6 separate regions of the Homo sapiens genome follow, and all the other regions are linked to region 1. Evidence: promoter capture Hi-C in 16 types of primary human blood cells and fetal thymus (Javierre and others, 2016). All regions are on one chromosome and are shown on one strand. The core of a region is centred on a gene start or on the middle of the fragment in contact, and the rest is flanking DNA. Distances in the headings are between cores, read along the strand shown.

The links. Contacts are between HindIII fragments. The CHiCAGO score rates a contact against its expected background, and 5 or more counts as called.
Region 2: a contact is called between a fragment that was not itself captured here and the fragment with the promoter of OLIG3 in region 1, in 4 of 17 cell types (M2 macrophages, total B cells, M0 macrophages and 1 more). The highest score is 6.9, in M2 macrophages.
Region 3: a fragment that was not itself captured here is called in contact with the fragment with the promoter of OLIG3 in region 1 in 1 of 17 cell types (M2 macrophages); the score reaches 5.4 in M2 macrophages.
Region 4: a fragment that was not itself captured here is called in contact with the fragment with the promoter of OLIG3 in region 1 in 2 of 17 cell types (naive B cells and total B cells); the score reaches 8.7 in naive B cells.
Region 5: a contact is called between a fragment that was not itself captured here and the fragment with the promoter of OLIG3 in region 1, in 3 of 17 cell types (naive B cells, total B cells and monocytes). The highest score is 9.3, in naive B cells.
Region 6: a fragment that was not itself captured here is called in contact with the fragment with the promoter of OLIG3 in region 1 in 1 of 17 cell types (monocytes); the score reaches 5.7 in monocytes.

Annotation. Positions count from the first base shown.
Region 1 is chr6:137,492,024-137,496,949 of GRCh38, forward strand. OLIG3 (oligodendrocyte transcription factor 3) reads right to left here and starts at 2,371. Exons shown (of 1, transcript NM_175747.2): 1 at 176-2,371. The coding sequence starts at 2,147. The coding sequence ends at 1,329. RefSeq lists enhancers at 1,281-1,780, 3,462-3,995, 3,996-4,528. The HindIII fragment of the contact is 6,431 bases long and covers 1-4,926 here.
Region 2 is chr6:137,038,450-137,043,375 of GRCh38, forward strand. All of the region lies in intron 1 of IL20RA (interleukin 20 receptor subunit alpha), which reads right to left. Among named protein-coding and RNA genes, the nearest start is that of IL20RA, 4.1 kb to the right of the region's middle. The HindIII fragment of the contact is 1,077 bases long and covers 1,568-2,644 here.
Region 3 is chr6:137,055,818-137,060,743 of GRCh38, forward strand. No RefSeq gene overlaps it. Among named protein-coding and RNA genes, the nearest start is that of IL20RA, 13 kb to the left of the region's middle. The HindIII fragment of the contact is 4,141 bases long and covers 381-4,521 here.
Region 4 is chr6:137,079,189-137,084,114 of GRCh38, forward strand. No RefSeq gene overlaps it. Among named protein-coding and RNA genes, the nearest start is that of IL20RA, 37 kb to the left of the region's middle. The HindIII fragment of the contact is 2,389 bases long and covers 1,163-3,551 here.
Region 5 is chr6:137,096,816-137,101,741 of GRCh38, forward strand. No RefSeq gene overlaps it. Among named protein-coding and RNA genes, the nearest start is that of IL20RA, 54 kb to the left of the region's middle. RefSeq lists enhancers at 285-454, 1,050-1,219. The HindIII fragment of the contact is 2,230 bases long and covers 1,046-3,275 here.
Region 6 is chr6:137,120,136-137,125,061 of GRCh38, forward strand. No RefSeq gene overlaps it. Among named protein-coding and RNA genes, the nearest start is that of IL22RA2, 51 kb to the right of the region's middle. RefSeq lists enhancers at 1,417-1,586, 3,972-4,141. The HindIII fragment of the contact is 5,847 bases long and covers 1-4,926 here.

The DNA of each region.
Region 1 (4,926 bases), core at 1,121-3,620:
CATTTAGTTCCAAAAATCAGCACCAATTTACCCATCCTGTTTACTTGTACGTAATCACGGAAAACCTTCACATCTGCCCACCCATCCAAATTCCTCACCCAGATACACCTTACCTGGTCCACGTGTTTCCTATCCCACTACCCCCATCTGCTAAGATTTTAGGCAAAGGCAAAGCCACGATTTAAAGGTTCTTTTTTATTTGAAATCTCATCCAGAAACACTGGTTATTAATAAATATATCATAGTTATCAAGAATATATAAAAAATAAAGACAGGTATCGTCTTTGAGGCCCTAACAAAATATTTCAAGCAAATGTTCAGGAAAATAAAAACGGCACCCCTCCCAAAACCAGGATAAGTTTTCAAAGCTGATAATAGAGAGAGCCAACCCCGCATGCAGAATAACTGAGCGAGGGGGGGTGGCGCAAGCTACTAGAGGGAGCCCAGGCTTTTACAATAGCGGCCCCAGAACAGCAAAGGAAGGTTCCGAATAAAGTTTGAAGGGGGTGGGGGTGGGAGAAGAAGCGCGTGTGCGTGAGTGTGGGTCTTTGCACTCTGCCCCTTTTTTCATTTCATACAACCACAGACAGATATATGGAGTACTTGGGATAATTCACTAATAAATCCTTGTTACAAGGAAAACGGCACCACAGCCTGCACGACATATTCAGACAAGATTCATTTAGAAGCGTGCATGCATTCTTTTGACCTACACTGCGTCGAAAGGAAAACCCACATAGGAGGTGTCATGCCCTGGACCTCGGTTGAGATTCAAAACTTGGGTCTTGATCTCTCTCGCGCTCTCTCTCTCTTTCTCTCTCCATTGTCTCTAGAAAAACTGTGGCAAGGACAGAGACAATCATAATCGCATCCATCTCAAGAAAATATTTACATTTGTTTTGCACAAAAGGGATGGCCGTCTTTTTCCAAAGCGAGAACACAGAGTCAGAGAAAGCCAACTCAAAAGTCCCTTCGCAAGTTTTTAACTACACCGATCCCATCTTTATACAACAAATGCAGTTTTGACAAGAGCATATGGCAGTGAAAAATACTGGCGCGGCATGGGGAAAAGAAGCATGCATGCAAAACACACGACATCTGGTTCGAGTCCCCCTTTGCTACCACCTAGAAATTGCGGTTTGATTTTGGTCCTTTCCCTCCGGGGGTCAAGTGGAGTCTGAGATCTCTCAGACAGCGTGGGAGGCTGCGGGCCCCGGAGCCTGCCCTCCCGTGGGCCGAGCGTGCAGCCTCCCTCTTCCCTCCCGGCCCGGCACCGCGGCCCCTCCCGCCGCTCTCCCTCCTCCTTGGCAGCCGGGCCCGCCCGCTGCTCACTTGAGCAAGTCCTTGGACTCGGCCGACAGCCGGGCCATGTTGGCTGTGGAGAGAGCGGACAGGTGCGGCGGCGGCGGCATCTGGCAGATGGTGCAGGGGCAGGGCAGACCAGCCCAGTGCTGGAAGCCGCTGCCCAGCTGCAGCGCGGGCGGCGTGGAGGGCGCCTTGAGTAGCGAGTGGGGAGGCCGGATGGTGCCGATGGCGGGAAGTGAGGCGGCGGACAGCGGTGACGAGGCGTTGCCAGATGAGAGCGCGCCGCCCAAGATGGGGTGCACCGGGTGCACGGAGTTGGCCGCGTGCGCGGGGTGGCCGGCCGAGTGGCCCACGGTCCCGCAGTGAAAGGCCGAGTGGTGGCCCCCATAGATCTCGCCAACCAGCCTCTTCATCTCCTCCAGGGAGCTGGTGAGCATGAGGATGTAGTTTCTGGCGAGCAGGAGTGTGGCGATCTTGGAGAGCTTGCGCACCGACGGCCCATGCGCGTAGGGCATGACTTCGCGCAGCCCGTCCATGGCTAGGTTCAGGTCGTGCATCCGCTTGCGTTCGCGTCCGTTGATCTTCAGCCTCAACTGCTGTAGGTCCTGCTCCGACAGCTGCTTCTTGATTTTGTACTTGCTGCTCTCTCCCGCGGCCTTGGCGCCAGCCCGCGAGAGGCTTTCCCCGGGCATCTTCTGCATCATATCGCCCTGCGTGGACGAGACCGAGTTGAGACGGCTCTCCTGGTGGTGGTGGTGGCGGTGGTGGTGGTCCCTCAGGTACATCTCATCCATGTCCGGAGATGAAGCTCTGCTGGAGACAGAGCTCGAATCAGAATTCATTTTATTACAGGGGATGCGGCCCTACCGTGGGGAGGCTTTAGGCGGGAAATTAAAGAAAATCTTGAATTAAAAAAAAAAAATCTGCACTGCCCAGGAACCCACTTCTCCGCGGCAAGACGTGAGAAGAAAAGCGGAGACGCTGCTTTTCCCCGCCTCTCTCCCTCCCACGCCCCTCTCTCTGGTTAGGCTGCTTCCTGGACAGCTAGTTGGTGTGTGCTTGAACTAACCTCACGCTGAAAAAGAGGGGCTTTTATAGAGCTGCGGCGGAGAAAAGAGACAAAAGGAGCCCTCCTATCTATCCTGGGCTGGTTAGGATGACGTGCCATCATTCAGGGCGGTGCGCTTTGCTGTCCCATTTAGCAAGGATTCCTATTCATATTCATTGTGGGGCCGCCCTGGGACACCTCTGCTCCGAACCGCTAGGAGCCCCCAGGCACAAAACCCTCTGATTGACACACTCACCGCTCCAGCTTACGCCTTCCTGATTTTTTTTTTAACTTTCTTCCACCCCACCCCCCTTCCCAATTTCTCTAACCAAATCACACATCAGGAACGGAAGGAAGGCAAGAGAAGGTGGCCAGGCGGTTGGTGGAGGTTCCTCTGAGTTTGGAGAGAGGAATTGAAACATTCGCTCTCCTTTCTTTCCTGGCTGCTCCCAAGTTTAGAGAAATATGGGCAAAAATAGGTCTCAGTGGAAAGGTTTGAGGGACAGAGGTGCGGTCGGAGGGAAGGTGCTGCCAGCGGGGGCTGGGGGTGGTGGGAAGACTGCATGCCGACTTTCTCTGTCTCAATATTTTTTTTTCATTAGATCTCTTTTCCTAAACACTTCCATTCTGTCAATTTTGTTTATTGGGCCCTTCTGGTGTGGTTTCAACGGGATGTCCATGTTCGGTGATGGCTTTGCTCCTGGCAGTATTGTGGCGGAGAGGTCTCTTATTTTCTGTGTCCTCTCTTTCGTTTTAAAACATGGATTTCTAAAAGAATTTCAGTTTTGCACAATTCTTTAACTTCCTAGACCAAAAACTGCGAAAAAAAAATGTTAATGTCACAAGAAAAGCAACTTGGGAGGATGGGAAGGAAAAGGAGCCAAGGAGGCAGAGAGAGAGATTGTTAGGTTCCTGAGAGCTCCAGAGAGATTGTTCCCACTCCAGGCTTCCTGGACCTTGGCGCTGGCGCAAAACGGTGGGACGGTCCGCGCCCGAAGCTCCGCCGGGCCTCCTCTGGCCGCTGTGCTGACGTGCCCCGAGCTCCGGGAACTCAGCGGCACCCCGGCCTGCGCGGGTGGGTCCACCAGGCTGGGGCCGCCGTACGGCGTCGGACAGGGAAATCAGAAGCTCATAATAAACTATCTGATGTCGGGGTGGTGGGGCGGGGGGGTGGGGTGCGTGGGCAAAGAAGCACGGGGGAAGGGAAACAACGAAAGGACCTAGAAAGCCCCTTGTGCGTGCCCGGGCACTGCGGTTCAGCGCAGAGTCGTTTCTGGGAATAAAGAGGAGGTCGGAGTTTGGAGCCTTCGGTGCGAGTGCGGAGGTGGGCGTAGATCTTTCTTCCCCCTTGCTGTGTTTTTGTGATCAAGACTTTAGCTCAGCAGCACGAGGGGCGGGAAGGCAGAAATCCCGGGAAGGGAGAGAGCCCCAGGAGTGGTCTCTAGAAGAACCCGGACACCGCCCCTCTCCCGGCTTGGTGGAACGGGAAACAAACGCTAGCTAGTGACTGAGAGTCTCGGTGGAAGTGTGAAATCGAATCAATCGCGGAACCTCGGGCACTTGGGGCCTCTTGCGCCGCTGAGTCACTTCGAAGAACAGGATGCCCCCCTTTCCCTTGACTCAAACCGAGCGGTCAGTGGGAGAGGGATGCGCGCCCAGGTCCGGAGTTTGCACGCTCTGAGGCTGTGCCCCACTGACAGTCACGCTGCGAAGGCAGCTCTGGCCAATACCAGAAGGATGGGCAAACGCAACATTGGCATGGATGCTTTTGCTACACCGAATTTTGTTTTTCTGTAATGGGGGAAAAATGGCCAACAGCCCTTCGTCAAGGCCAGGAAGTTAGTGCTCTTGCAGATTGGACAGGAGCCTCTTCTACCACCTTCATCTCGGTGGAAGGAAAGTTTCTTAATTCAAGAGGTTAGATTGGATGTGGAAAGACTAATGTCCAAAAGCATTCCTAATACCAAGCATAAAGAATGTTTCTTAATTCACCAGACTCGCCAATAAGATAGTGACATACACTAAGTCTTCCTGGTTATTTAAAAAAGGAGGGGAGGGGGGAAGTGCTCCAGAACTTGTGCAGTCCCAGGTGATGGGAGGAAGCTAGTGGCTAGTCCTAACGACAACCCTCTGCGACTCCCCTGCTGATCAAATGGGGTGAGGAGAGAGAGGCGGACGGGGGAGGGCATTGGGAGCGAGCACTGGACTGGACGAAGAGCAGCTTCCCCGCCCTGCGGACGGTGCACAGGTCTGGCCCCCGCCGTCCTCCTGAGCCACCTCCCTGACCCTAGGTCGTCGGCGGCGTCTGTCCTTCCCACACCCAGACTGAAAACGCTGCACCTGAGTTTTGATTTGGGGAAGTAGAATTGTCTGGTCAGAGCAGAAGGGTTGCAAATGAAGGAGTGGAAAAATCATGTTGCTACAAGATATTTTACCCTTTAAAAAAAGTCTTGATTTTCCCAGTGGACAATGTAAAATAAAGTTTTAAAATCTCCCCCAAATTAGTAACGAAGGTGGCAAGCCGTGGGCGGGGGGAGGGGAGGGAAGGAGGGTAGAGCAGCCCTCGAAATACA
Region 2 (4,926 bases), core at 856-3,355, 450 kb before region 1:
ACCTCCCAAAGCTCTGGGATTACAGGCATGACCCATTGCCCTTGGCCTTGTTCTCCAATTTTATATGTAATTGATAGACCTTGGAATTGATTAAAGTGATTTAATTCATGTTTCTCATATCAAATTTTGTGTTATGTCATAAACTGTAGACTAAGAAAATGTAAAAATGCTGTCAGAACATCACGATGATAGCAAAAGTATAATGTTATAATTAAGATGGATAATGCGATTTTACTCCATAAAATATATGCTGCCTGAAGCCTCAGATGATCATTTTTTTTAAATCAATATGGAAGTCAGCATGTCAATGACACCTGGTAAAATTGTACTTTGAAGAAAATGGTGCAAATAGAAAGTCATTTTTAAAATGTAACGCATATAATGAAAGTTGCTTTTAAGAAAGCCATACAACTTTACAGAACAATCATTTTGTGAAAAATACTATGCCAAGCACTAAAAAAGGCAACATAGAGATATACAGTTTCATTAAAAAATTATAAAAACAGCAAAAGTTTTATGTTGAAATGTTTATACTAAAATCTTAATTTTAAAGCAATAATCCCACTTGCCTATTGTCTTTACCCACAGTTTATGAGTAAGTGAAATATATATGTCCTACCTTATGGTTCTAAGAGTCAGAGCTAAACGAAAAGGTATAATCAGGGAGGTGGTGCTTCCTCCTCAGCCCTACTATGTCGTTCCTATTCCATGCCGCTTTCCATGGGTAACCAATCTCCTTGGCTGCTCTCCAGGTCGCAAATACTGCCTTTCCTGAATTCATTCTATAGGAAGCTGAGTAGTTCTAGGCAGGAGGAGTGCACATTGTGAGGAGTGAGGCTGGAGATACCTGTAGCCATAAGCTTGGATGTTGGGTACATGATACTCTCTGGGGAGGCTGGGGCTGGGCCTCAAGCTGATAGATCAGGAGGCCTGCAAATCTATAGATAAGAAATCACCCCAAGTCTGCTTGAAGGGCAATAGGAGAGAGGCTGGAAAAGAAGACATGCTTTTTTGATAAAAAGAACACTTGAGCGAGCAAATCCTCCATTAGCTGCAGTACAGAAATCAGATTTAGACCTGGATCTTAAAACATACACATATTTGCTCATCGGTGCAAAAGAAATTCAGGAAAAATAAACAAGAAATGAAGGAGATGGCATGGAATGTGGACCAAGAACAAAGTAGAAATGATGTCAGAATATCACAATGACAGTGTAAGTACAACATCGTAATCACATTTATAGTGTAATGGGAAAGAGGTGGTGGTATGGTGAGGAATAGAAAGGAGGTAGTAGGGCTCAGAAGGGAGCCACACTTGTCTGAGAAAACCGTTTTGTATAGCTCTGACTTTTATAAGCACAGTAATATTTCACCTAGCTGCCAAATGCCCCAAATGTCACAAACAAAACAACTAGCATGAGGGGGAACCCAAATTGTAATACAAGCAGTTTAACAAATGAACTGAACTTATCCCAAATGGATAGAATAACCACACCAAAAGGAGTAAAGAAAAAAAAGGACTAAGCCAGGTAACTTTGGTCAATAGTATCTTCATGGGATATTATAAAGCTTAAGACCAGAAAACTGTACATAAAGGCTATAATTTAGTAAGTACACGTTTTTCTCATAAGAGCATGAGTTAGCAATCCTGAAAATATTTATATTAGAATCAGGCAAATAAGTCTATTGTAGATAATGACATCTGGGTTTCTCACTGTTAGACAAAGAGGCTGTAAATGAAAGAGGAAGGCTAGAATGAAACTTGATTGTTAGGTTGAAATTAGTGGCACCATTACAAACTCACGGTCTTAAATATATATACACACCCACAGATACATACAGAAATATAGATGTGTGTGTATAACTACGTTAGTCTATACACACATATTTCCCAGCTCCGTCCACCGAGAGCACCTAGAAACAACATTCCAGTAGCAATAAGCATGCCTCACACCCAGATTTTGGTTTCTAAACACCTTTCTCCAATAGAAGGAACCAGAGCTTCCTGAGGAAGTCATTAATTCCAGGCCTGGGGCAGGGAAAACACTAGATGAGTCTGGAATGTTGTTGGCACTAGAAAGTTAATGAAGTGCTCAAAAAAGATGGGGTTCCTTAGAGGGACACAGGAGCCAAACTGAAGGAACTCTTAGTGGCCAAAGCTGGAACAGCATGAGCAATAAAACTGATAATGATAGTATTGGATTATAAATGAAAGAAGAAGACACATCCATGAGTCCATACTGATATACTTAACCAATTGAATAAATACCTAAAAAGGCAAAAATGATGACCCTTCCTTGTAATAGAATTCCAATGAATAAATGTGGAAAAAAAGAGTGAAATAAAAAATCACTACTAGGTATAGTAGTTTTTGCAGTCAAAATCCACCGATAGATACTAAAAATAGTTGGGTGTGAGTTTGGGGATAAGCAGGATTTTTGCATAATCTCAAAGTATCTCTCTGCAAAATATTTATTAGTCACACAGTGAAAAATCGTAACTTTATAGTAAGAAACTCTGAAGAGACCACCTTAACCAAGCGATCAAGGTTAACATCACCAATAAGAAGACATGTTGATATTACAAATCCTTTGAAGTGACAATTTATGTGGCATTTCTGCCAAAATTGAATAACCTCATTCTAAGCTTGAGGAAACTTTACATGAACCCAAACTGAGGGATATTCTAAGGAAGAGGTAACTGGGACTCTTCAAAAGTATCAAGGTCATGAAAGCAAAGAAAGGCTGAGGATCTGTCACCAGTTGGAGAAGACTAAGGGGACATGACCACTAAATGTAATGGGAGATCCTGGACTGGATCCCGAAACAGAAAAAGGGCATTATTGGAAAAATGGGTGATACTCCAGCAAGGTCTATAGTTTAGTGAGTAGCACTATACCAGTGTTAATTTCCTGGTCTGAACATTGTACAATGGTTACATAAGATGTTTTAATTGGGAGAAACCAGGTGAGAGGGATATGGGAATTCTTTGTGCTATTTCTGAAACTTCTCTGCAAGTCCCAAATTAGTTCAAAATTAAAAGTTAAAAAAAGAAAATAATTCTGCAAGTTTAATTAGTTCACTAGAATCATTTATGTCCCTGTGTATGTGTGTGTGTGAGTGAAGTATGTCCTGGAATAACTTCTCAGTGAAATAAAATACGGAATGCTGCCATGTTTGTATCAAAGAAGAGACATTTTGACTAATACTCTCACTCCATTAAGTCATTCTAATAAGCATAGTTGTTGTTTGGTATTTAGACTGCAATCTAAAGCTCCAAAACTCAAGTTTATTTGTTAATAGACATCATAAGCTATACTTTTTTCCTCTTTGGGGATTTAGGGAAGACCCTGTTATTTTTTTTTAAATATATATATATATATACTGTAAGTTCTGGAATACATGTGCAGAACATGCAGGTTTCTTACATAGGTATACATGTGCCATGGTGGTTTGTTGCACTCATCAATCTGTCATCTACATTAGGTATTTCTCCTAACGCTATCCCTCCCCTAGCCCCCACCCCCCGACAGGCTCTGGTGTGTGATGTTCCCCTCCCTGTGTCCATGTGTTTTCATTGTTGAACTCCCTAGGGAAGACCTTCTTGAGGGAAGCACATTGGCAGGAGAGGCCAAAGTCTGAGCAGGAGTTAGCTGGGAATAGAGTGGCACAGCAGCATTCTAGCAGAGGGGCTGCCAGTATGAATCTCCAGTAGGAACTTCCAGAGGAACTGCCAGTATGAGTGAGATGGGAAACACTTTGGCTTGTCTGGGAAGTAGAAAAAGGCCAGGATAGCAGGAATTAGGTGGTGTGAGATAAGGCTGGAGAGACAGGCAGGAGTTGGCCACACAGGATCTTGTAGAACTGAGAATGATTCCAGGAACAGTAGAAGCCTCTGAAGGGCTTTGAGCAGAGGAGGCAGATGACCTGAGAAGTCACCATCTCCCATTCTATCTTAGTGACTTTAAATGCCTGTTTATATTATGCTAATCATGGTTCTTTATCGTTCCTGAGAACAGGATATGGGAATGGCCAATAGGGCGGAGTTTGATAAGCCATAAGGATAAACTTCACTGTGAAATTCTGTCCCTGGAGGGGTCCAAGAGTGAATGACAGCGTGTTGCACCTGCCTTGAGGGAGCCGCATAGACATTTTGAATTCCATTACAACTTTATCTGAAATGAAATACCAAGATTTCCCTACAAGGTTCATGACATGCTGAGTTTTTTTTTTCCTCTTTGGATGTTTTGGTATTTTACAGCCTGATATGGCACTGAGCTGTGAGACGAAAATTTTTAGAAGTTTAAAAAATGAGAGCATTAAAGCATTAATCTACCTGAGAGTGGCAAAGTCATAGAACCTTAGTAAGCCCACGTTGTACAGAAGACATTGTAGATAATCCTTCAATTACGAGCAGGTAGTATCCAGGTAACTACATACATCTTCTAAGGTGGTCTTCCCAGCAGTCCTTAGACCTTAGCCCAAAGACCCAGGAGAGGACGGGAATACCCTAAGAAGAGCTAAGAAAGTAGTATCAAGGTCTCTTGGGTCAGAAAAGATTTCTTACTGTTTTGTTTTGTAAATTTTATTTTGAAGTCAAGAACATTACTACCTGGTAATGTCAGCACCCAACAATTTTATTTCTCTCTCTCACTTTCTTTGTTTTTGGTTTTTTCCCCAAAGACAGGGTCTCACCCTTGGCCAGACTGGAGTGCAGTGGCGTGATCATAACTCACTGCAGTCTGGAACTCCTGGGCACACGGAGTAGCTAGGACTACAGGTTTTTGCCACCACGTCTGGCTAGTTTTTTATTTTTATTTTTTTAATGTTTAGTATAGACAGGGGTCTCCGTATGTTGCCCAGGCTGGTCTGAAACTCCTGACCTCAAGCCATCCTCCTGCCTATGTCTCTGTCTCTCAAAGTGTTA
Region 3 (4,926 bases), core at 1,201-3,700, 440 kb before region 1:
CCTAGAAGAAAATATAAGATAAACTTCATGACCTTGAGTAGGAAAATGGTTTCTTAAATATGACAGAAAAATCACAAGCAATTAAAGAGAACTAGGTAAATTGTACTTATCAAAATTTAAAACATAGGTAAATCGTACTTATCAAAATTAAAAATTATTGCACTTCAAAGAACACCACCAAAACAGTGAAAAGACACCAAATGAATGACAGAAAATATTTGGAAATCGTATGTCTAATGAGACTTGATTCTAAAATATATAAATAACTCTTATAGCTTGATAATGAAATGACAAATAACTCAAGTAAAAAATGGGCACAGGGCTTGACAAGACATTTCTCCAAAGAAGATCTACAAATGGCTAATAAGCACAGGAGAAGAAGCTTGACATCATTACTCATCAGGAAAATGCAGTTTAAAACCACAGTGAAACCCACACTTCATACCCATGAGGGTAAAAGTGCCATATTATAATAACAAAGACAACAATATTGTCAAGGATGTAGAGAAATCAAAGCCTTCATACACTGCTGGTGAGCCTATAAAATGAGTCAGCCACTTTGGAAAACAGTGTGTCAGTTACTAAAATGGTTAAACAAAGAGCTATGATATGACCCAGCACTTCCAATCCTAGGTATCTAACAAAGAGAAAAGAAAATACATGTCCACACAAACACTTGTACACAAATATTCATAGCAATGTTATTTATAATAGCCCCAAATTGGAAACAACCCAAATGTCCATCAACTGATGAATGGATAAATAAAATGAGGCGTATCCATGCAATAAAACATTATTTGTCAAAAAGAATGGAGTATGGATACATGGATGGATTAGCCCTGAAAACATATGCTAAGTGAAAGAGGCCAGTCACAAAAGGCCACACATTCTATTTATATGAAATAAATTCTATTTATATGGAATGTCCATAATAGGCAATTTTATAGAGACAGACAATAGATTAGTTGCTTTCAGGCGCTGGGGCAGGTGGTGGTTGAGAGTGGTTTGGGGGTGACGGCTAAACAGTAGAGTTTTTTTTCTGGGGTAATGAAAATATTCCCAAATTGATTGTGATGATGGTAGCTCAATTTTGCAAACATGCTAAAAACCACTGAGTTACACACTTCACATGAATACATTGCATGATATGTGAATTACAGCTCCATAAAGCATTGCCAAAAAATTACACTGAGAAAATGGATGCGAATCCATCATAACAAAACAGCGTTTATTCAACAAATGTAAAGTTGTTTTAACATTAGAAAAATCAGTAGTTGTAATTCACTACAAATACAAATAAAGGAGAAAAATCAGATGTCTATTTAAATAGGACAAAACAAAAAAAAAATCTGGCAACTTCTGAATAGAAGTCAACTTCCTTCATCTAATAATGAAGATCTTAATGCTTCATGAGCATATACTTAATGATGACATACTGAAAGTATCTCCTTAAGGTCAGGAATAAACCAAGTGTGTCTCCTGTCATTCCTTCTGAATTCAATATTATGCTGGATGTCCCAGCCATTATGGCAGGGAAGAAAAAGAAAGAAAGTCATAAGAATTAGAAATGATGATAAAATTGTTATCTTTCATAGATAATATGATTATATGCACAGACAGTGGAAAAGTATCTCTGGGTAATTTACAAATATGAATGTGAGAGTTTATAGGATTCTATTCATGCATTCAATGTCCTCAAAGCAATTGCACGCCAATAATACATAGTTAAAATGAAATAAAAGTACTATTTTGTAATAACGTGAAAAATATCTAAGACATACAAGATCTTTATAGGAAAATGTATGAACTTTCATTGAGTGACTTTGAAGAAGGCCTTTTTAAATGGAGGGATATGGATTGTGGTTATGGACTGAGGACTCAATATCTCTCAAAATTAGGTTACAGATGTAATACGATTCCAACAACATTGTAACAGATTTTTATGAAACTTGACAAAGTGATTATAAAATTTGAGTGGAATTGCAAAGGTCTAAAAATAATCAAGGCGTTTTTGAAAAAGTTTAGAGAGGGAGAGTTTCCCTTACACATAACAAGACTTATAAAATTACCTTCAGACATTGTGGTAGACAAAAAGATCTATGAAACAGTATATAGAGTCCCAAATTTAGGGACATTTGATAAGTGAAAGGGACATTTCAGATTAGTGGGGAAAGGACAGGATTTTCAGTGAGTGGTTCTGGGAAAACTGGGTATGTACTTTATTTTACATCACCTTCAAAATAATTTAAGTAAATTAAAGAGCTGTTGTGGGTTGAATGATGTCCCCCCAAATTCAAATGTTGAAGTCGTAACCCCCAGTACCTCAGAATATGACCTTATTCAGAAATAAGGTTATTGCAGATGTAATCAGTGAAGTTAGGATGAGGTCATACTGGAGTAGGGTGGGCCCTTCATCCAAATGACTGTGTCCTTATAATCAGGGGAAATCTGGATACAGACACATGCATAGGGACAATGTCACATGAACATAAAAGCAGAGATGGGGCGATGTGTCTGTAAGCTAAGGAACACCAGAGACTCCTGATAAACCACCAGAAGCCAGGAGAGAGAGAGAGACACGGAACAGATTTTTTCTCATAGGCCTCAGAAGGAACCAATTCTGCCAAAACCTTGATTTCAGACTTGTAGCCCCTCAAAACGTCAGACACTTTCTGTTATTTAAGCCACTCAGTTTGTGGTACTTTGTTATTACGGCCCTAACAAGCCAATATAAGAGCTAAATGCGAAGGAAGATTTTCAAAGACCAGATAGTAGAACATCTATATGACCCTGGGGTCAGAGAGTGTTTCTTAGACATAAAAAGTCTAGCCATAAATCAGAAGATTGACAGTCTGATTACATTAACATAAAGAATTTCTGCCATGAAAAGACACTAAAAGAGAGAAGAGACAAACTGCAAACTGGAAGAATATATATGCATCATATATAACATATATTATGCAGAACACTACGCTTTATATATACATATACTCTGGATATTAGGTAATTTTCACTTAATCTCAAAGAAGTTTTTTTAACTCAAGGATTTGTAATGTTGTTTCATCATTTCTTTTCTATTTTCAGGTTGAGAACTACTATGGAAACATTACTGCTGACAACAGAAACAATGGCTTCTAGGAGGGTTTATAAATAGTTGCAGAAGTTACTTCAGTCAGTACCATAAAAAATGATGGTCATAAAGAAGATGAAAATCCTTGCAAGTGTTGAATGACCTTGGCATTCACGATCACTGAAAAAATTCTCAATGCAACAACTGTTGATAATAATTCAGCTGGTGGTTGTACCTGCCAGGGATGCTAATTAGCTAGAGTATGTGAAAAGAAACTAAAGATTCCTCTTTTGTGGTATGGAAAAACAAAGCACAATATTAACAGTTTGCTTTAGTTCAAATCCAGAGGTAGTCTGGTTTCACCTCAGATGTAGCATAGTTCTCTTTTCTGGGTAATTTAAGGAATTAAGGCCTGAAGAGTTTTGAAAATGCTAGGTTAGCACACGGGTTATTTGGGGGCTTTTAATTTTAAAATAGGGCCTAGAAGAACCAAGATAATCTTGAAGAAGAAAAGTAAGTTTGGACCAGCCTGGGCAACACGGCAAAAACCTGTCTCTACTAAAAACATAAAAATTACCCGGGCATGGTGGCGTGTGCCTGTAATCTCAGCTACTCAGGAGGCTGAGGTGGGAGAATCACCTGAGCCCAGGAGTCAGAGGTTGCAGTGAACCAAGATCGTGCCACTGCACTCCAGCCTGGGTGACACAGCAAGACCCTGTCTCAAAAAAAAAAAAAGAAAAAAAAAAAAGAAAAAATAAGATTGGGCAACTTACATCAAGATATCAAAATTTATTATAAAGCTACAGATTAGTAAATTAGATTTCATTAGAATTAACAACTGTTGATTACCAAAACACACCATTAAGAGAGTGAAAGAGTAGAGGTCAGAAGATACTTGCAATACATATGTATGTCAAAAGAAAGCAGATAATATACCTCTTACAAATCAGCAAGAAAAAGATACACCAATCCACTATAAAAATGGGCAAAACTTTGAACAGATACTTTACAAAAGAAGATATCAAAATAGAAAACAGGCCTCTCTACATCACTGGTCATCAGGGAAATGTAAGTTAAAACCACAAGGAGATACTAATACACTCCCGTTTTGATGGTTAAACAATACCAAGTGCTGGTGAGACATTGGAACATCTAGAACATTCTTACATTGCTGGTGTTAAATTGGTTAAACTGGTTAAATCAGAAAACAAATGATTTTCCAGATGGAGCCAGCATAATGGGCAAGCAATCTGTACAGTCGCTCAGGGTCCCAAACTCCGAAGAGCTTTGTTTGTGGTTTAATGCTTACCTATCCATGTCTTGAAACTCTTAATAATTTTATTTTTAAACTTGTTTTTGTAATATTATGAGAATGTGGAGTTTCACTTGCATCCGTGTGAAGAGACCACCAATGTGAAAAGACCACCAAACAGGCTTTTTGTGAGCAATAAAGCTTTTAATCACCTGGGTACAGGCGGGCTGAGTCCGAAAAGAGAGTCAGCGAAGGGAGATAAGGGTGGGGCTGTTTTATAAGATTTGGGTAGGTAAAGGAAAATTACAGTCAAAGGGGGGTTGTTCTCTGGCAGGCAGGAGTGGGGGTCACAAGGTGCTCAGTAGGGGAACTTTTGAGCTGGGATGAGCCAGGAGAAGGAATTTCACAAGATAATGTAATCAGTTAAGGCAGGAACAGGCCATTTTCATTTCTTTTGTGGTGGAATGTCATCAGTTAAGGCAGGAGCTGGCCATCTGGATGTGTACGTGCAGGTCGCAGGGGATATGATGGCTTAGCTTGGGCTCAGAGGCCTGACATTCCTGTCTTCTTATATTAATAAGAAAAATAAAATGAAATAGTGGTA
Region 4 (4,926 bases), core at 1,107-3,606, 410 kb before region 1:
ATATATATTCCAAATATATATACACATCTATATATTCCAAATATATATACACATCTATATATTCCAAATATATATACACATATATATATTCCAAATATATATATACAGATATATATATTCCAAATATATATATACATATATATATATTCCAAATATATATATACATATATATATTCCAAATATATATATACATATATATATATTCCAAATATATATATATATATATATATATATATATATATATATATATATATATATACCACAATTTCTTTATCCACTCACTGATTGACGGGCGTTTGGGCTGATTCCATATTTTTGCAATTGCGAATTGTGCTGCTATAAACACATGTGTGCAAGTATCTTTTTCGTATAATGACTTCTTTTCCTCTGGGTAGATACCCAGGAGTGGGATTGCTGGATCAAATGGTAGATCTACTTTTAGTTCCTTATGGATCTCCACGCTACTTTCCAGAGTGTTTGTGCTAGTTTACATTCTCCCTAGCAGTGTAAAAGTCTTCCCTTTTCACCACATCCATGCCAACATCTATTATTTTTTGATTTTTTGATTATGGCCATTCTTGCAGGAGTGAGGGTGGTATCGCATTGTGGTTTTGATTTGTATTTCCCTGGTCGTTAGTGATGTTGAGCATTTTTTCATGTTTGTTGGCCATTTGTGTATCTTCTTTTGAGAATTGTCTATTCATGTCCTTAGTCCACTTTTTGATGGGATTGTTTATTTTTTTCTTGCAGATTTGTTTGAGTTCCTTGTAGATTCTGGATATTAGTCCTTTGTCGGATGTATAGATTGGGAAGATTTTCTCCCACTCTGTGGGTTGTCTGTTTACTCTGCTGATTATTTCTTTTGCTGTGCAGCAGCTTTTTAGTTTAAGTCTCATCTATTGATCTTTGTTTTTGTTACATTTGCTTTTGGGTTCCTGAAATCCTTGCCTAAGCCAAGGTCTAGAAGGGTTTTTTTGATGTTATCTTCTAGAATTTTTGTGCTGTGTAACCAATTGTCTTCGGTTGGGTCCCCTGAAAACAGCTCTGATATGGAGATGTATGGGCAGCAGTTTATTGGTGAGTGCTCCAAGGATCAACACTGGGAAGGTGCAAGGGAAGCGATATTCCTAGAGAGGCACAACTGTGATGTAGTTTCAACAGAAGCTTTGGCCAAGCCCAGAAGGGGCCCTGGAGCTGGGATGGCCATTCAGAGTTGTTCCATTTATAGCAAGGGGCTACTGGGCCTTGGAACCTGCAGCCATTAGTCCCTGGGTGCTGGATGCTTCCGAAGAGGGCAGCATACTTTGAGTAAAGCAGCTTTCTTCAGCCAAGGGCAGTTCCATAAGAGAGACATAGCTGTGTGCAGCCAACACCTCTGGCTGCTGGGAAACCAATACTTCAGTCTGAGGTTGGGATCTTGGTGGTACAGCTGAACCCCACTACAGAAATCCTGCCAGACTTCACACAGTGGGTATTCAAGAAATTATTGATGGGTTCTTTTAGTTCTATAAAACATGAACCTGTTACTATTGCAGGGCTTTTTCCTTAGCTCAGCTAAAGACAGGGGTCCTTATCACACGGCCAGGAAAATTTAGGCTCGCAGATGATTGAAGGGTGAGAATTATGGAATTTATTGGGCAAAAAGGAAAAAAAAAGGGGAAACAGGGACTTTCCGCAAGGCCAGAGTTCCTGCTGGGGTGCTTCCCAGCCCACTGTTTGCACCCCAGGTTCCACACAGGAAGAGGAGGGGCCGGGATCCTCCCTGCTGCAAACAGCAGGAACCTCTGTGGCTCCATCCCACTGTGCATTCCTCCCAGGGCCCAGGCAGCTGGAGTTTTTCCAGGGAACCCCTCCCACCTGGCTTTCTCATTATCTTGACCCTTCTTTGCTTCTGTCTCTGCTCTCAGATTCAATCTTCATTGACTCATCATTTCTACCTTTTATTCTTCTGAATATCTTCACCTGGCAGAAAAGGAAAATTGGACTAGAAAGCCTACTATCCAGCAGGCAGTATGCTGGGGACTTCACATATGCCCTGTTTCCAAATACTAATGTTTATTCTTTTTGTCCTCCAAAATTTGTTAAAACTATTTTACCTCTGTTCCATCTTTTTATTTCTGAGATTTTGTTTCATAAAATTGTTCTAAACTTCATTTTTAAATGAAGACATCTGGTGATGGCATGTACACTCATTGCAGGAATGAAATGAAAATAGACAAGAACCAAAAAGATATTTCCCCAATAGCAATTAACCATATGAATTGCTTCATTATTTTATTAAGTTACTAAAATTGATACATACTTCCTATTTAACTGTAATTTTGCAATGGCAAGAGCTGTAAATAAAGGTCATATATTTATATATGTGTATATTATTAGTAGATTTCTGCAAACAATAATTGCAATAAAAATAAATTTTTAAATGAATCATTTCACAGCTCTCCATAAGCCTGCTAAATCCTATATCATGCACTCTATAATTCTTAATGAGATATTTATTTCTAGTCTTTTGTAGCCCCAACCAGGTAGTAAAAATGAAATGATGTCACCTGGATTGCCATATCATTTTGTCCATATGACCTATTATCATCTTTTAAAAACTTGGATTATTATATTTTTATCTTAGAATCTGCTCACTATTTTGATCTATTTCCTCTTATGGTTTTGGGTATTAAATATTCAGTCTAGTGGCATTAGCACAGTACTAGAAGTAAAATAGCCTGGGTTTTAGAATGAGCCTTGGTTTTCTCACATGTGAAACAGAATTGATGTTCGTATCATATGCTGCAGTGAGATGGGTTAAGAAAAACTATGGAGAAGAGGTTTGAAAACAGTAAGATGTTGTAAAAAATGAAAGTATTATTACTAAAATAGAAAGATATAAGAAGAAAGAAAAGTAAAATCTGTCCACTGGCAGTGGCCTGTCTTCCAGGCATTTCACACAGGTTATTTCACAGCCATGCTGCGACGCAGGTATTGTTTATCCCCATTTTATGGATGAGAATGCTGAGGCTGAGAGAGGCTCAATAACCACTTGATGCCATTGATTGGTAATAGTGTCTGAGTCCTAATTCACATCTAGCTCTTTGGATTCCGAGTCTTGCCTTCTTTCCACTGCACCAAAACTGACTCTCAATTAATTGTGGATAATCAGTGGAAATCAGTTTACTCTTGGGAATCTTTCCATTTATGCCCCCTCCCATTGCTTTCAAAATCACCTCTGGTGTGTTCCTTGAAATCTTAGAGAGGCAGTGGATTGTAATTTAAGAATTTTTGCTTATAGCAGCACAGTTTACCGTGTTGCCCATATTTGTTCTGGATCAAGGGATTGGAACCCTCAAATACATGTCAGCACTGCTAGTTATATATATTTTTCTATGTCTAATTGCAATCCTTAGTAAGAAGAAATAGGTTTGAGGATGCATCTTTCAGGTCAGTTCCAGAAGGTCGGGAGGTGCAAATGAGCTGAGCTGTTGATTCAGTTGAGATCATTTTGATGAGTACATGCTTGCATGTGGGTCTATAATGTGGTTCATCTCCATAAAATCCCAAGCTTTATGGGTTTGAAAGCATTAACTCATGTCTTAGAAACATCCCACATAGATTATTATAATTCTTGGTGCGCTGCCTGACCATCTGCTTACCTACAGGAATTACAATCACATGTAATGGCCCTGCGCAAATCTAGGCTCAGAAAAGAAATATGAGAATACCTGAGTCCTTTTCTGTTCTGTTGAAACAGCACTATTTTTTACACCCTGCTCAGCATAATAATGAAAAATGTGTTAATTTGTGACTTTTCTTGCTTCAAAATGATGAGAATAGGAAAATACTTAGTTATATACTTTTTCCTCTTGTTGTTCTATGAGAATATATTGATCATCTCATGCAGCATCCCTCCCTTCTTTCCTTCCTTCTCCACAGATATTGTATTGACAGCTGTTAAGTGCTGGCACTGTGCTAGTCTGCAGGACACAGAAGCAAACAAGCAGTCACAGCACTTGCCCTTATAAGCATCACACTCTAGTGGGTGAGACAGACATTAAACATAATTTCACTGAGAACCTTGGGATTACACTTGTTGTGAGTGCTATGTTTGAAAATTCCTGGATGCTGTGAAAACAATGGAGGGGAAATGAGGAAGAATAATTTATTAGCATTTTCTTACATGAGATTATTTTTCTTGTTATTTTGTTGTCAGAAAGAAACATTACAGAATTCAACAGGCCATCTCTCATGGCTTTCTTTTCTACTTTCCTCTCCACTTCTTGGCCATTCTCAACAATTGCCTGTGGGTGTTTTGAGCGAATGTAATTTTATGGGCAAATAGTTATAGTTCCAATTCCTTTACTTAGTCTAAAAACCACTATGCACCTCCGTCCCCCGAAGCTGACATTTTAAAAATTAGTATTTATGTTTTTATTCTATTTTTCTTAGACACACTCCTAATATTGTCTTGTTTAGGTGCATGTATTTTTCAAATACTGCTAGCTTTCAACTAAAGACAGAAGTCTAATTTCCATCTAAGCTCAAAGAACTTCATAAGAGTTTTATCTTAAAAAACAATGCTGATCTTAGCAGGTAACTAGGGCAGGCCACAGGGAGGAAATGAAGAGGGATTCAGGCATTCTGGTGCTGGGATAAGGCATGGGAAAGCAGAGAATGAGTTGGTGCAAATCCCAGGCCCTAGCATTGTGTGGGTGATTCTGGTACTCTAAGGTTTGGCTTTGAAATGTGGCTATAACCTTTTAAAAAAATTTTAATATTTTATTTAATCCAATATATCAAAAACATTATCATTTCAATATGTTAGCAAAATAAAAAACTATTAATAAGATATTTTGCATTTTTTTCATACTAAGTCTTTCAAACTAGGTATAGCTATGAAATTTTTTTCCAGCTGGCTTCACTTCCTCTTTGTTTACT
Region 5 (4,926 bases), core at 911-3,410, 400 kb before region 1:
ATCCATTGTACCTAAAAGAAAGTTAAAATGAGATAAAAATCTGGGAAAAAAAGGTGGCAGCTCATTTCCCACAATCTCCCTTGCTTTTTTAAACTCTTACTTTGAACTTACTGCTTTTTGCATGATAGTCTTCTGCCTTAATTCTTGAATTTTCCAAATTGATGTTAAAGTCTTTAATGACTCCTTTTTATACCAAATAACTCTCTCTTTTTTTCTTTTTACCAACTCTCTGATATGCAAATGTATGTCTGGAGTACCATAAAAAGGATTTTATTTTTCAAAAATAAACAAAGGGAGAATGTAGGTAACAAAATCTAATACAGAAGATGTATTTAACATCATGGTATAGTAGAAAAAAACAAGTTATTCTGTCTTGCATCATTGATGTTTATAAGTCACTTGATGAGCCATTATGAAACATCTCTGTTTGTAACATGCAAAGTTAACAGCTGGGTCATATTTATAGCATTCTACTCAATACCATGCCTCAGAGTCCAGGTTGAGAATTTGTGATTTGCAATTGATAGGCATATTTGCCTTCAGACATTGGAAAACTCTGAAATAGGAAAAAATAATGAAGACATTGTAAAGTATTTCTTTCCCTCTGGCAAGTAAAAGATTAATTACTGTTAGTATACCAGCTCTTTCTTATAAGAAATCATCCTGAAATCCTAAAATAGCCGCTTCATATCAGAGTGATATCCAGAAGCCTCTTTCAATATCTGTCCTAAAGGACAAAATGCCCACCCTCCAAACAGTCGAAGACAGATTTTTCATGGGGCATATTGTTGAATTTTGTGATGAATCTTGCTGAATTATTTAGCCTTTGGCAGCAAAATGTGGCTGGGAAGAACATGGACTGCGTGGCTTCACCACAGCAGCTCAGGTAGATGTCCTTGGGCTTGAACTTTCTGAACTTTGGCTCACTCTGATGAAATGGGAAAAACAACGGCAACTTTACAGAGTTGTTTCAAAGACTATATAAGAATTACAATAATAGCTAAGATTCTTGAAAAAATTTCCATTTGCCAGACACTGACTAGAAAGCTTGATATAGACTTGTCATTTCAAACAGATCAAATCTATATGGAAAAGGCACTTCATGAATTAGGCCACAGAAATGTGAATTTATTCCTCCTTCCTCTGTTATTTGAAACTCTCATAAAAGGGACTTTTTTTTTTGAGACGGGATCTCACTCTGTTGCCCAGGCTGGAGTGCAGTGGCACGATCATAGCTCAATGCAGCCTCCAACTTCTAGGCTCAGGTGATCCTCCTGTCTCAGCCTACTGAGTAGCTAGGACTACAGGTGTGTGCCATCATGCCTAGCTAGTTAAAAAAATTTTTTTGTAGGGGTATTGCTATGTCCCCTAGGGTGGTCTGGGACTCCTGGCTTCAAGCTATCCTCCTGCCTTGGCTTCCCAAAGTGCTAGGATTACAGGCCTGAGCCACTGCACCTGGCCAAGAATGATGTTTTTTTTTTTTTGTTTTTTTGTTTTTGAGACACAGTCTCGCTCTGTCACCCAGGGTGGAGTGCAGTGGCGCAATCTTGGCTCACTGCAACCTCTGCCTCCCTGGTTCAAGCGATTCTCCTGCCTCAGCCTCCCGAGTAACTGGGACTACAGGCGCGTGCCACCATGCCCAGCTAATTTTTTGTATTTTTAGTAGAGATAGGGTTTCACCATGTTGGCCAGGCTGGTCTCGAATTCCTGACCTCAGGTGATCCACCCACCTCGGCCTCCCAAAGTGCTGGGATTACAGGTGTGAGCCACCGCACCCAGCCGCCAAGAATGATTTTTAATGAGAACCTAACAGCTTAAAGGACATAGCTATGTACCTTCCCATTTCCCAATAGTTGAAGAGCCTTAAGATTTTTTCTACTTTTTGTTTGTGTTGCAAAATGAGTATTATAATTTAATCCCTTTTCTGTTGATAGGTGTGAATAGTATTTTGCTTTAAGTTTTAAAATTACTAATTAATTGAACAATAAAAAATTACCAAAATTTGTATTTCCCTTTATAAAACTGCTTATGTCTTTTTCCTATTTATTTATTGTTTTCATGTTTTTCTTATTGATCTATAAGAGTTCTTCATATGCTAAGAATATTAACTTTTTATTCATTAACTGTTGCAAAAAACTTTACACCTCTCTTTTTGTCTTTTAATTTGGTTTATGCTAAATTTTAAGACTCATAAAATTTACAGCTTTATGGGGTTATAAAGTCTATTAGTCTTTTTTCATTATGACTTCTTCCATTGTTTCTATATTCTAAAAGCTATTTACCTTCCAGAGATCAGAAAAATAGTAAAGTGCTTTCTTCTTTTTTTATTTTTTTTGAGATGGAGTCTTGCTCTGTCGCCCAGGCTGGAGTGCAGTGGCATGGTCTCGGCTCACTGCACTCCGCCTCCCTGGTTCACGCCATTCTCCTGCCTCAGCCTCCTGAGTAGCTGGGACTATAGATGCCCACCACCACACCTGGCTCTCTGGCTAATTTTTGTATTTTTAGTAGAGACAGGGTTTCACCGTGTTAGCCAGGATGGTCTCAATCTCCTGACCTTGTGATCCGCCCGCCTCGGCCTCCCAAAGTGCTGGGATTACAGGCGTGAGCCACCGCACCCGGCCTGCAAAGTGCTTTCTTCTAAGTTTATTTTTGGTTTGAGTTTTTTCAGTCTAATTCTTTGGTTAATCTAGAATTTGTTTTGATGCATGGTGTGAGAGGAGAATGAGAACTTTCTTTTGGCCTAACCACAATGACAGGCCCATATATCTACCTGTTAAAATAAATGGAAAAAGACACCCCAGGCAAACACTCAATGCCAAGAAATCAATTAGTGGATTTTCTTCTTGGAAATACTATCTTGTTACAAAGGAGAAAAATGCTTAGGAAACTTTTATATAACTTCAGGTTTAGCCCAAGATTTTTTAAACACAGGAAAATCTCTTTCCCTTTTTTCTTATTCAAGGCATACAGTACGTTACTTTTACCTTATTTCAGAGTATCCATGTCTGGTTTTGTTGATGTATAAACACTTGGAGGCTTCTCTCTCTCTCTCTCTGACTCTCTCGTCACACATACATATCTTCCTCATTTGGCCACCCCCTCACTTCCTAAACCTTGCATGAAAAAAAAAAAAGGTTACCTTCAGGTGAATGAGTAACTTAGAGTTGTGATACAAAGGACTTGCTGGGTTAATTCCCTGCCGTGTTGCAAGTTAAGACCTCAGGAGGGATCCTGATTGAGATTGAAGCTATATACATAAATAAATCCCCAGCCGAAGCTTGATTTGAATAGATATATGGGAGCTGGGGACAGAATTGACCAGATGCTGGACCATATGATAAACACAGAGGATCACGGTGTGGTATAAAACCTGGGCAGTTCCATGGTACAGCTGGCCGTGCATAATCTTCTGCTAATTTATAAGGCGGGAGCATCTGCTCTTTCACTGCCACTCTCCAATTTTCTAACAACCTTATCCTTGGGTCTCTGGTTTAAAGCAGCCCCATGACGTGGCAGGAAAGAAAGGAGGGTTATCACCAGGGAAAAATGACACTGCCCAGAATCCTGACTTTCAGAGAAAAAAGAGAAAAGGCCTTGATTCTTATCCTGACTAAGCCTTCTTTTTTGGATAGTGTCATTTTGAAATCATTCTTTTAGATAGGGCATCTTGGGTTGCCATCACGGGATAGTGTCTTTCTCTATAAGAAGATTCTTTCTGCCCCTTAATCTATTAGAGGAGGCTGGGCACCATGGCTCATGTCTGTAATTTCAGCACTTTGGGAGGCCGAGGTGAGTGGATCACTGGAGTTCAGGAGTTCAAGACCAGCCTGGCCAACATGGTGAAACCCCGTCTCTAATAAAGATAGAAAAATTAGCCAAACGTGGTGGCTCACGCCTGTAATCCTAGTTACTCAGGAGGCTGAGACAGGACAATCACTTCAACCCGGGAGATGGAGGCTGCAGTAATCTGAGATTGTGCCACTGCACTCCAGCCTGAGCGACAGAGTGAGACTCTGTCTTAAAAAAAATAAAAGAAGTCTGTAAGAGAAGAATTTAGGCCAAACTAAAGCCTCAGATTGCTTTCAGTTGAGATAATACTGTTTCTGTTTAATTCAAAGCAACTAGTATTTTCTGGGGACTACATAGGCAAAATTGAGAAGCAGGAGTTATAATGCCCTCCTGGCCCTGGAACTTCCCAAACACCCATTGAGAAGGCCTGTCTCCCTACTCATGATTCTTTCTCCTCTTACTCTTTCGACTTCCTGCCAGGCAGGTTGGGGTTATGGTGGTGGCATGCCTCTCATTAACTACTACATTAGGCCCAGCTTTCTGCTACATCTTTGTTTAACCACATTGATGTATTAGTTGATAGAGGCTTAAAATATTTTTATCTTAAAAGAGACATCTGACACTGATGTTAAAAGGCTCAAAGGAATGAATATCTTAATGACGGAATTTCATTTTCTGGGACTCATAGGTAAAATAGTTTAACGAAATGGATGACGTTACCTTCAAATAACACTCTCTGGAAGAAACTCATTGGTCTAGGGATTAGAAGAGGTTTTAGTCCTTATTCTGCAACTATTATAGCCTCTGACATTGGTCACACCACTTAAGCCCGCTGAGCCTGGAGTCTCAATACCTTTTTCCTTTTGAATGGCAGAGAAAAACAAAACAATACACTTGGAAATTACTCCCTCAGGGCTTTTGGGACAGCTCCTTTTTTTTTTTTTTTTTGCCTGAGCCCTAGAAAGGGATCTGAGGAATTTTCAATTAGAAAGTGGGAGTATACTCCAACATGTAGATGACCTTCTTGTATGTAGTCCAACCCAGGAGGCATCTGACCAAAAAACCTTAAAACCATTTTGCATTCCCCGGCACTCGAGTCAGAAGAGTACGTGGATCTGCCACTAATGGGTGGGCTGG
Region 6 (4,926 bases), core at 1,353-3,852, 370 kb before region 1:
ATTTAATTTTCTTTCCTATTTCTTACCTCACCACGTCTATAGGGTGTGTTGGCAGTTGTTAATTTTCAACTTGTCCACAGAATACAGTGAATTAGTTCTTCTGGGACTTAAGAACCAAGTGGCTGAGCTGCTTGTTGGCAGTATGAACTAGAAAAGTCATCTCTTTTTCTGGGCTGAACTCAAATACAAAAATTTTCAATTCATCTAGTAAACGCAAGGGACTGTAAACCAAATGTTGCTTCCAAACCCTGAGGAGGTCCACCGAGTGACCTTTTTTAATGGTAGGGGGTAAAAAGGATAGCGACATGTCACTTAATTCAGAGGGTATCTCACAGTGTGCTGAACCTCCTAGGACTTGACTGATTGGGTAGGTTCCTGAATTTTATGAATTTTATTTCCTTCCCTCTGGCACACACGTATCCTACTAAATCATGTGGGTGAGGGTTACTTCTGGCTCTCCAGCTCTGTCAGCCCAGTCTCCTCTGAGCAGTAGACAGTGCCATGTCCTGCAGATGGTAGAGCACTCCAGTTCTCTCCTGAAGGTGTGTTTCTGGTGTTCTATATTGACTAAAATAGAGAAAAATAGATTTGCCTGATGAAAAGCTGCATACTGGTTTTCAGAGGTTGTGTTGACTTTCTCCAATCAATGACTGTTTTTTCAACAGCAGCTATAACAGGAGTTACTACCTGATTAAACCTACAATTACTCTTTGTCATTTTCCAAAACCCACTTACTTTTTTTCAGACCAAAAAAGCTAGTGAATGAGTATACAGGCACATGGTAATAAAAGTCAAACAAACTTCCATTTGTTTGTATTAGAGCTTTTAAATCTTCTAGAGACAATACCTCCCTTCATTCCTCTAAAGCCTTGACTTCAAGGGACATTTTATTCCAGGGTATCATAGAGGAAATTTGATTAAAGGCAAGCATTAGCTTCTAGTGTCCCATCTCTTACCTATGTTTTCACTGCCCTCAGCTCTAACAAGGCTAAAATATACACACAAATTTTCTCTGTCTCTCAAGGCCTGTTATTTGGAACCAGTGATGGTACTAATTTATGTAGTAGGCTGGTCTCTTAGGTGTAAGCAGCAGAAACCAAATCTGGGTAATTTAAACAGAAAAAGGACGGTATTAAAAGGATGTTGATTAGAGAAAAGCAATTTGAAACCATAAGCAGGAACTAAACCAGCTTTAACTTTCTGCTGATTCCTTCATTAATAATGAGTTCAATAAATCTTTAACATGTGTTATATTCATGAGGCTGGGAGATCTGTTTTAACTGAATATTGTACTTTGACAATTTTTGGAGATTCCACATAGATGTCCCAGGAAACTCCCCTTCTGAAATTAATTAGGCTTATTGAATTTTGCACTGATTGATGCCAGGTATTTCTTGTGCTCTTGGAGACAATCTCAAGCAGCAATAAACACTTACCCTGCTGGCTCTGTTTCTCTGTTCTTTTCCCTTCTTCAAGTCTGTTTTTGTTTTTGTTTCTGTTTCTGTTCTGAGCTACATCTATTCATCCAATTATGCCTTGTCTAATTTAAGTTTGGTCCATATTTATTTTTTCACTGAAGTTCAGGGACTAGTATTAATACATACCCAGCCTGTCTCTACTGAGATCGCCACCCTGTGTACATGTGAGTCTGGCTTGTGCACAGCTAATCTGTTACTCTCCTTTTGTGGCAGCAGTGGATGGAGATCTGGTTCTATGCACTGACTTTTTTTGTCATCTCTGTTGGAATGACAAAGATCTATTCTTCTTTGGCAGATACTATACACACACACACACACACACACACATTGTGAGCTTTGCTGGTCTGCTAAAATGCTAGTGTACGAAAGACAGTTCTCAATGTCCTGTCTTCCAGAGTTTTCCATGAAAGAGAAATTAATTACTTTGTTTAAAAGTTATGATTACTCTATGTGGTTGAGACTATCCTAAGTAAAGTGGAGGCAGAGAAGTATGAATGTAGAATCTAGGTAATAATGGGATGAGTTATTATTTAGCAAGGAAGAGAAAGAGTAGACTTTCTTATAGGAGAGCATCTTGTTAAAGAAGTAGTAAAGAAAAAACCTGATATGATATTTAAGGTTTATAGAAGGCTTGCAGAAAGAGAATTTTATTTGCCTTGGATTAATACCTAAAGGTAAATGAATCTGAAAAGAAGCAACACAATGTGCTAAAAGTTTTGGCAAAGTTGGCTCAATTTTGACAGGTTTGTTTGTAAGATTTTTTTAAAAAAGAAAACACATGAATACCGTGTTAATGCAAGACTATAAATTTTTTCCTCTGTTAAAATGTGATAAGTTGGACTTGCAGTCCTCAGTCTGTGCTTATTAAGAGGTAGTAAATTATCCTTTACCTTTGTGTTATTTCAAATGGCAGAGATTACATATCTCATCAAAATAACTTTCTATGCTTTATGCTGACTTTGGTTTGTTTTTTGTTTGTTTGTTTTTTAAAGACAGGTTCTCGCTCTGTCACCAAGGCTGGAGTGCAGTGACATGATCATAGCTCACTGTAACTGTGAACCCCTGGCCTCAAGCAATCCTCCTGCCTTCGCCTCCCAAAGTGTCTAGATTACAGGCATGAGTCATTTGTACCTGGCCTGTTCTTGATTATTAAACAAACAAGTAAGCAAGCAAGCAAAGAATAAAAGTTACTTCTGAGTAAGCTAAGTTTTCCTACGATGGTGTTACCTTCTGTTGGGTTTATTTTTAAATGCTACATGAGCCTCTTATTAATAAGGGGCCAAACCACCTACTATGGCTATACGCTGATCACTAGCACCTGTGTAATGCTCTGAACTAGAAACCATCCACTTGTGTTGTTTCAGTTTTGCCTTCCCAAGATCAGATCTTAGATTCATAAAATTTTTTTCTTAAAAACGTTTTGCACTAAACAAACTATGTGGTTCCTCTGAGGTTCTTCCCAGATTAAAAATTGATTTTTTAAATTAAACTTTATAAAAAGAGGGGGGCTAAAAATAATTAGTTTTGGGGTGGTCTATTTTTCTTAACTCGTTCAACGCTATCATGACAGCTTCATGGAAAAGGTTAAATAAATGAGGCTCAGCTGTTCCTAGGTTAGTTCTGTGCTGGTAAAGTCCTACTGATAAGTGTGTTTCAGAGCTTGTTACAACTTGGCAGGATGGATTGGAAAGCCCTGGATATTTGTTAACAATTCTAACTGTTTATAGACTATTCTTATCTTCAGGGGAAATATTGATCAAATCCTCAGAAGGCAATTATGTATTATACCCTAGTAGAAAATTTTACTTTCCTTCATTCTGATTTTGTTAGTTATTATACTAACTGCAGCCAGTCTGTCTTCTTATAAACCAGTGGTCTCAGCCCTTCTCTTATACTTGCCTGAAGCCTCTGCTATAAGCTACAACTCTAGAAATGGATCTTTATCAAAAAAGGATAGTTTCAGAAATTTAGTGGAAAGGACTCTACCAGAAACTTCTACACTTATTGTTACTTCCAAGACTGGACTCACGCAGACATGGCTTCTGAGTGGGCATTACTTAGACTACTGTCAGACTGTCCAGAAAAGACATGAACTCTTGAAACTAGACTTCTCCCCAATATCCAGTGAGGCAAGACTTAATTAAGACAAATGATGGGCCGGGCATGGTGGCTCATGCCTGTAATCCCAGCACTTTGGGAGGCCAAGGCAGGTGGATCACGAGGTCAGGAGTTCGAGACCAGCCTGGCCAAGATGATGAAACCCCGTCTCTACTAAAAATACAAAAATTAACCAGGTGTGGTGGCGGGCGCCTGTAATCCAAACTACTCAGGAGGCTGAGGCAGGAGAATCACTTGAACCCGGGAGGCGTAGTTTGCAATAAGCTGAGATTGCGCCACTGCACTCTAGCCTGGGTGATAGAGCAAGACTCTGTCTCAAGAAAAAAAAAGAAAAAAAGAAAAATGATGAAATGATGAGAATACAAAACTGTGATTTTTTATTGGAATAATGTTAGCATTAGTTTTGATATCATATCTTTTCTTTTTTTTTAGTTCCCTGCAAGTGTTCCACATCTATGTTATATTTTTGATAGGTATATGATGGATACTGCTACTTAATCTATTCTTAACTCTTTTATTTCCAATCTTATTTTATTAGGACATTTTAAAAAGAGTATCTTATGGTCATTGATCCTTCAGTAATCAGCAACAATTATTTTTACCGAATCCCTTTTCTTTCAGTGGCAATGTAGTTACCTACATAGATTCAATAAAACCTTTTTAACAGACAATTAATTTTACAAATTAATTGACAAGTTCCAAATTATTTTTTTAGAGTGCCAATAAATTTATTTAAATATGTATGACTAGTCAACCATTAAAAAGCAAGAGTTGTACTTCACATATGAAACCAATGCTAAAAAGCCTCCTAGGAAGCTGTTCTGGTGTCTATTTCATGGTTTATAGAGACCCAGCCTTACAGGAAGTAAGGTCGCTTTCTTGCAGGCCCATGGTTTCAGAAGACTTTTGAGACCTTGAAAACAAAGGAATTTACCCACATTTATAGGTACTGCAGGTAATCTAACAGAGATGAATTTCTTGGGTTTGGTTTTCTAACATCATAATACAAGAGTAACTAAAAACATCTTGGAGTAATGGAGACTGTTAAAAAGACAGTTCCTACAAAGACTTTAGACAGAAGTTAATCTGGTCTTAAGTAGGTACAGCTCTGAATTTCCTAGTTATACACCACAGGTTGGTTTCTAAATGTTAAATAATGCTTCTTGCTACATCTACGTAAGTCTACGAGGCTAAACCACAATGAGATCCTTGATAATAGCAATGAAAGAATGATTAATGAAAAATGTCCATAACTTATAAAGAGAAAAGGATGACTGCATGTCCTTTCATTGTCAAATAGGTTCATCTTTGACTCGGTAGTTGCTATTTA